Linked DNA regions of Homo sapiens: region 1 is linked to region 2. Evidence: promoter capture Hi-C in 16 types of primary human blood cells and fetal thymus (Javierre and others, 2016). All regions are on one chromosome and are shown on one strand. Each heading gives the region's core, a stretch centred on a gene start or on the middle of the fragment in contact. The rest is flanking DNA. Distances are from core to core; before and after follow the strand shown.

Region 1 (3,904 bases), core at 1,004-3,503, 210 kb after region 2:
GCAGAAGATGTGGTAATGACCTGCTCCTGTCCTTTTCTCTGGGTTCTTGCTCACGCTGACTAGGTAATGGGCTTAGATTCTTGACCCAATGTAGACCACTGGAGTCTTTAAGAAAATTATTGAGTCTGACTTGTGTCCTGTGTAATCATCCTGTGAACTTCCTTTTACATTTTATGCTTTTTTTTCTTGACCTTCAGTCAGATCCTTGGCATGAGAATCTGCATTGGATTTGATAAGATGTAATCAAGTATCAAATAAATAAATAAAACCCAAGTGATTCTGTCCCAAGAAAAGCAGAAAAAATATCAAGCTGTGGGAGAGAACAGGACATGCATCTTAGCTTACCGTTTCCAATACTGGCATATACATAACATGAGTCTTTACATCTCCAAAATAAATATCAAAGCAACTGCTGAAAGCCAAGGTTAGGAAGGAAGGGCAACTGCACATATATTTGGATAAAGTGTTTGTTATTTAAAATGAAAGAGAGCTTCAGAATTAGCAAGAGCTGATGCTCTACAATTGTTTAAAGTAAGTCTGTGTTTTGCCTATGTTCAGTTGAAGCCATAATTGTGGAAATGGATAAAAAGTCAGGAAACCTGAGTTCCAATCACCGGTCTGTCACCAGTGCAGTCAGAGAGTTAGACCAAGAAGTGGGACAACTGGTCAGTTACTGAGGTCAGCAGTATACATGGGGCACTGAAATACTGCAGCTCTAGACTGTCTTGGAAAAGTAATGAAATGGAACAAAATGTGTTGACCAGAACTCCTTTCAGGGAGATTACTGGATGTGCTCAAAGGGAATATTTGATAGGCTTCTTGGGGTGGAAGATGAATATATTCAGTTCTCAAATAAATGTTGAATAAGCAGCTCATTTTTAACATGATCAAAATAGAATCTTTATTTCTATCATTACTATCTTTTCTCCCAGTCTTTCCTACCTGAATAACTAGTTCCAGTTTCTTTTTTTTTCTTTCTTTTTTTTTTTTTTTTTTTTTTTTTTGAGACGGAGTCTCGCTCTGTCACCCAGGCTGGAGTGCAGTGGCGCGATCTTGTCTCACTGCAGGCTCCGCCCCCCGGGTTCACGCCATTCTCCTGCCTCAGCCTCCGGACTAGCTGGGACTACAGGGGCCCGTCACCTCGCCCGGCTAATTTTTTGTATTTTTAGTAGAGACGGGGTTTCACCGTGTTAGCCAGGGTGGTCTCGATCTCCTGACCGCATGATCTGCCCAACTCGACCTCCCAAAGTGCTGGGATTACAGGCGTGAGCCACTGCGCCCGACCCAACTAGTTCCAGTTTCTTAAGCCCAAAATCTAGTTGATGTCCTGGTACCTCTCTATAGTACCTAACCATATCCAATCCATCAGCAAATCCTGCTTCTTAGTCATTCATTTTCTAAAGTGTTAATTCTTACCAGGCTAGTCATTTATTTCTTTTTCATACCCATGTGGTAGGTCATTTTTGTTTCTTACTTTATTGTTAATTTCTAGTTTTATTGCATAATTATCAGAGAATGCTGTGTATGTATGTGTGTGCACATATACATATATGTGCACATATACATATATGCACATATATACATATATGCACAAATATGCATATATATACATACACATATAAAATTTGGAATTTACTGATGTTTTATTTGAGGCCTATTCATTAATCAGTTTCATAATTGGTTCACATGTGATTGAAAATAAGTTTCTTATTCATTATATATTTATATCCTTATGGATTTTTTTGGTCTTTGAACTGTGAGAGTACTCTGAAAATATGGTTAAAGTTCTGTGTTTTCAGTGTGTTTATTGTATTTCTTCTTTTCCTATAGTTTTTGCTTTATGCAAGTTGATGCTTTGTTACTAAGTGCATAACTCTTAATAACTATTCCATCTTCATCATAAATTTTAGCCTTTAGAAGTGTAAAGTGCCTCTCTTCTGTCTTATTTAATGTTCTTTGATCTGAATTCTATTTTTGTCTAATATAAAAATTATGACCTCCACTTTCTTTTTCCTTAAATGTTTCTGGTACAGTTTTTAGCATCCTTTTGTATTTAACCTTTCTGAATCATTCATTTTAGATACGTTTCAGGAGTAATATAAAGCATTGGGTTTTGCTTAGTCTGCAAATCTTGTTATTTAATATCTGAGATAATATAATGTATGTTTATTTATACAATAAAAATCTTTCACTGTGTGTTTGTTTTCCTTGCTCTTCTGTCAGGAGGGGTATTTGTATGTGATCTGTGTGTGTGTGGTGTGTGTGTGTGTGTGTGTGTGTGTGTAGAAAGTAGAAAGTGTTGTAATTTTACAAGAAAGTGAAAGATCTCTGCAAGAAGAACTACAGAACACTGCTAAAAGAAATCATAGATGACACAAAATAATAAAAAAATCATTCCATGCTCATAGATTGGAAGAATCAATACCCTTAAAATGGCCATGCTGCCTAAAGCAATCTACAGATTCACTACTCTTTCTCTCAAATACCAATGTCATTTTTCAAAGAATTAGAAAGAAAAACTATTCTAAAATTTATACAGAACCAAAAAAGAGCTTGAATAGCCAAAGCAATTCTAAGCAAAAAAGAACAAAGCCAGAAGCATCATATTACCTGACTTCAAACTATACTACAAGGCTACAATAACCAAAACATCATGGTACTAATATAAAAACAGACATATAGATCAATGGGACAGAATGGAAAACCCAGAAATAAAGCCACACATTTACAACAACTGATCTTTGACAAAGTTGATAAAAATAAATAATGGGTAAAAAAAATACCGTATTCAGTAAATTGTGCTGAGATATTTGGCTATCCATATCCAGAAGAATGGAACTAAACTGCTACCTGTGACCATATACAAAAAATTAACTCAAGGTGAATAAAAACTTAAATGTAAGATTTAAAACTATAAAAATCCTAGAAGAAAACCTAGGAAATACCCTTCTGGACATTGGCCTTGGCAAATAATTTATGATTAAGTCCTCAAAAGTAATTGCAACAAAAACAAAAATTAAAGGGGAACCTAATTAAACTAAAGAGCTTCTGCACAGCAAAAGAATCTATTAACAGAGTAAACAGGCAAACTATAGAATGACAAAAAATATTTGCAAACTATGCATCTGACAAAGATCTACTATCCAGAATCTATGAGAAACTTAAACAAATCAACAAACAAAAGCAACCCCATTAAAATTGGCAAAAGTCATGAATGGATACTTTTCACAAGAAGTTATACAGGCAGCAAACACATATGAAAAAATGCCGAGCATCACTAATCATCAGAGAAATGCAAATCAAAACCACAATGAGACATCATCTCACACCAGTCAGAATGGCTATTATTAAAAAGTCAAAAAATAACAGATGTTGGCAAGGCCATAAAGAAAAGGGAATGCTTATACACTGCTGGTGGGAATGCAAATTAGTTCAGCCACTGTGGAAAGCAATCTGGAGATTTCTCAAAGAACTTAAATCTGAGGACCATTTGACTCAGCAATCCTATTACTGGGTATATACTCAAAGGAAAATAAATCGTTCTACCAAAAAGACACATGCACTCATATGTTCATTGCAGCATCACTCACAATAGCAGAGACATGGAATTAACCTAGGTGCCATCAACAGTGGATTGGATAAAGAAAAGTGGTAGAAATACACCATGAAATACTATGCAGCCATAAACAGGAATAAAATTATGTCCTCTGCAGCAACATGGATGCAGCTGGAGGTTATCCTAAGCAAATTAATGCAAGAACAGAAAACCAAATACCACGTGTTCTCACATATATTTTTGTTTTTGTTTTTACTGTTCTCACATATAAATTGGAGCTAAACATTGGGTACACATGGATATACAAATGAGAGCAATAGACATTGGCAACTGCAAGCGGGGGAGAGA
Region 2 (3,614 bases), core at 334-2,833:
TAAAGGGGATTATTCAGTCGACATTAAGTGGCAACAAACTCTAATTTTACTTTCTAAGCTACATCGTGGAGCTGTGCAGCTGGGCTGCGTATGTGCATATGCATTAGGAGGTGATTCCAAGGGACAGGGTTTCACTGAAGCCAGTGGAGGAGTAGTTTGCTCAGGTTCTGCTTTGCTGCAGGATCATTAGGGCCCTGGAAGTTTAAGTCTGACTCCTGGGACAGCACCCTGCTGAAAGTTTTATTCTGAATATTTGCAAAAGAAGTGAACTTCCAGTAGGGAGGTGGATGTTACAGTAATGCTATCTCATTGTGTAAAAACCAAATCATTTCAAGAACATACAGAGGATTAACAACAACAACAACAACAAAACCCAACAAAGCAACAACTAGAATCTTTTTGAAGTATTTTTTCTTCAGTGGAAAGGACCAGTTTGAGACCTGTGAATTATTGCAATGACTAAACATATCGTTAGACAGGTGTGAAATAACCTGACAACCCAGCATTCTGAGGCAAGAAGCAGGAAACTGTTCTTTTCCCAAATGTGCGGTTCATTTCTGTCCACAAGATCTTGTTGCGGAATAAGAAACAATACAGTATTAGCTTAATGAAGATCCTTCCTCAGTGTGGCCCTTGGATACTTTGAAGGTGAAACTCACCAAACTCTCTGTCCTTCATTTGTTCTAGGAGGTAATTTGTTGCAAATGGTGGCATCATCAACTACCCTCAAAGAAATATATTCCTCACTGATGTTTAATGAAAAGGATCATCAAAGAAAGTGTCGTCCTTCCTGCCTTATTCAATGTTGTTTCTCATCATATCAGTCACTGTCCTGGGGATTGTGAGCTTTCCGCATCTCTGGTGTTCCTAGCAAAAAACTCATAGCTCTAACCCCTACTAGAAACAGACATTTCAAGTACTGCTATAGGATTAATTAAAAGTGCTTTCACCTAAGGAAAGGGGGAAAGTAAAAATCATCCACTCATAAATGTTACTCACGATTCACACATTTCCAGCAGCATCAGAAAGAAAAACGTCACCTGTATTCCTAAGAAACTACAATCTAGGTCTCTGCACACTACAGCTTGTTGTTTTAGCACTTCAGACTTTTAAAAATCCTTTTTAGTAAAGAAAATAACACTCATTCACAATACTGGCTATGATACTTCAATTGACACTCTTAAGTTCCAGCAGTCTCATTGTTATAAGTCAGTGTTCAGAGTCGCAGGCAAGAAACTTACCTTAAAGGAGTAGTAGAAGGAACCCCATTCCTTTCCTTCCACCACTTCAGTAAAAGTCACTGTTTCAGTGCAAGCCACTGGGGAAGAATCCAGCGTCTGCCCGGTCCCACTGGAATCGAAGCTGCCCTCTGTGAAGTTGGCTGGCATGGCTCAGGCGGGGTTGAGCCTCACTGTCCTTGCTCCTGCAGCTGAGTGAGGGAGTCCAGCTTGCCTCCTGAGAGCTGGGCAGCAGCTGCAGCTCTGCTGAACGGAGGCACAGAGCCCTCCCTGAGCCCACCTCACTGAAGAGCTCTGCCTGATGACAGGGAGGATCTACGTGCTGCTCTCTCCTTGGCAATTACCACCAGGTAGCCAGCATAGCACAACCCTCATCACCCCACAGTCCCACCCAGGGCCAGGGCCCCACCCCAAGAGCAAGGTGGAGCTCCCCATAGCCATCGACATGGCTCCCTGGATGAGACCCCTGTTCTGTTTTGCTTTTCCTTACTTCCACGGTGGACCCCCACTTCTGCTCCAGCTTCAACAATAAAGGAATTTGGACTAATCAGTAGGTGCATGAATTCGGGTCATGTTTCCACTTCTGAAATCAAATTATAATTATGCATTTGTTTCAGCTGAGGTTGCTTTCTGACTTAAAGCCTCACCTTGCCATCTACTGTGTCATGTGCTCTTATTTCCGTAAGTGTAGGCAAATAGTACGTTTGTATTTCACACCCTTAGTTCTATCTAGGTGTTCACAGGGCGGTTCTCAGAGAAACATGAGGTCTGTGTTTGTCAATAAGCTACAACACCTTGTGATATGACTGGGAGGGGCCTGGTGAAGATTCTTACTGCTTTCAGTATATTCACCTCAGCTTCTACCTAGGACCAATACTCAGGGCGAGGGTAGAAAGGAGGTAATGCAGCATCCTGGGCACCACAGACAGGGCTAGGCGAGAATACTAACAGCTATTCCTGTTTCACAAAAAACCTGCAAAGCACATTTACACGTTCTTTCATTCAGTTTCCCAAACAACCTTGTGAGATAGGCAGGGAAGGTATCTTTATGTTCTCCTTTATGCTAGCAGAGAGTGGCTCCAATAGGTGAAATGACTTGCCCAAGATCCCGCAGCTGCTGATGTAAATGAGCTGATAACCCATCTCCAGAACTTCCTAGACAGTGGTGCTTTTACTGTAACAGACTGGTTTGCATCAAATCTCAAATGTCTATGGGGCATGAAGGTAACATGAATGAGGGTAGCAGGCCAGGTATAAAACAATGGGAACTAAGCTGCTTATATGACAACCAAGCACAATACCTGATTCCTCACATTGAGAACACTCTGTGAACCAACCAGGTCCAGCCACTGGTTTATGGCACCTGGAATAAGAGGTAGTAGCTTTAGTGGCCACCACTAAAGAACCTGGCCCCCATGAGATCTCCTGGGGAAGCTTTATTATAAACCATCGAGCCCCAAGGAGGGCACAGTGCTCTAGCAATGAGAAGGCATTGAGTCTATAATGAAGGGCAGCAAACAGAAGTGAGTTGTGTAGAAAACTGGATAAGCTGTGGACTCTTAAGGAAAGGTTCAAAACAGGACAACAACTCAATAGCAAAACAAGTGCAGCATATTCCAACTAACAAATGAGTATGAAGATAGGCTCAACCATATTAAAAATTAAGGAAAATAACTAAAACCAGTAAGAATGTTTACCTATTATTATAGTGAAAGCTAGCGTGTGGCTATCCCCAAGTGCTGACAAGATTGAAGGGAAACGGGTGTACATCTTTACTTCTGGTGAGAGTTAGTTGATGTGGTAATTTTTGAAAAGCAATTCAGCAGTATTTAGTAAAGCTGGAATTACATATCCTCTAATGCATTGTTCCATTTCTAGATGCTAATAATTTTTCATCTCTATCTGGGTTACTTACATATGCTCAATTCACATAAATTCTTTGCACTACATACTTAAAACATATGCACTTTTCTGTAGGTATGTTTTACTTCAAGAAAATGTTTATAAGACAAAATCTGTGAGGAACTCCTGGGAGAAGGTAGAAGCTGGTTAGGTCACAGTGTGGTAGGGGCAGAGTGAGAGAAAGTGGCAGATGCCATGGACAGAGAATAGGTGGGGAGAGAGAGCTTTCTGGTTGTTTCCTTTTCTCTCCATTCATGATCCAGATAGACCATTGTTTAACCTGTGGCCACCCAAGAGAAACATTTATGTATCTATACAAGCAGTCATGCAAAATGATGCCTTCGCAAAGTATTAAAGAAACGTATCAGAAGCAACCTAAATATTCATGATGTCAAAATCAATGAATCATCCCAAACTGGAAACCACCCAAATGTCCATCAACTGGATGAATAAATTTTCATGTAGTCACACAAT

Evidence for each region. The method cuts DNA at HindIII sites, captures the fragments that hold promoters and counts their contacts. A CHiCAGO score of 5 or more calls a contact.
Region 1: a contact is called between a fragment that was not itself captured here and the fragment with the promoter of NPSR1 in region 2, in 1 of 17 cell types (neutrophils). The highest score is 5.2, in neutrophils.

The regions. Positions count from the first base shown.
Region 1 is chr7:34,448,167-34,452,070 of GRCh38, reverse strand. The region is part of intron 2 of NPSR1-AS1 (NPSR1 antisense RNA 1); the gene reads left to right. Among named protein-coding and RNA genes, the nearest start is that of NPSR1, 210 kb to the left of the region's middle. The HindIII fragment of the contact is 4,559 bases long and covers 1-3,904 here.
Region 2 is chr7:34,656,187-34,659,800 of GRCh38, reverse strand. NPSR1 (neuropeptide S receptor 1) reads right to left here and starts at 1,583. Exons shown (of 9, transcript NM_207172.2): 1 at 1,242-1,583. The coding sequence starts at 1,388. All of the region lies in intron 2 of NPSR1-AS1 (NPSR1 antisense RNA 1), which reads left to right. The HindIII fragment of the contact is 9,279 bases long and covers 1-2,674 here.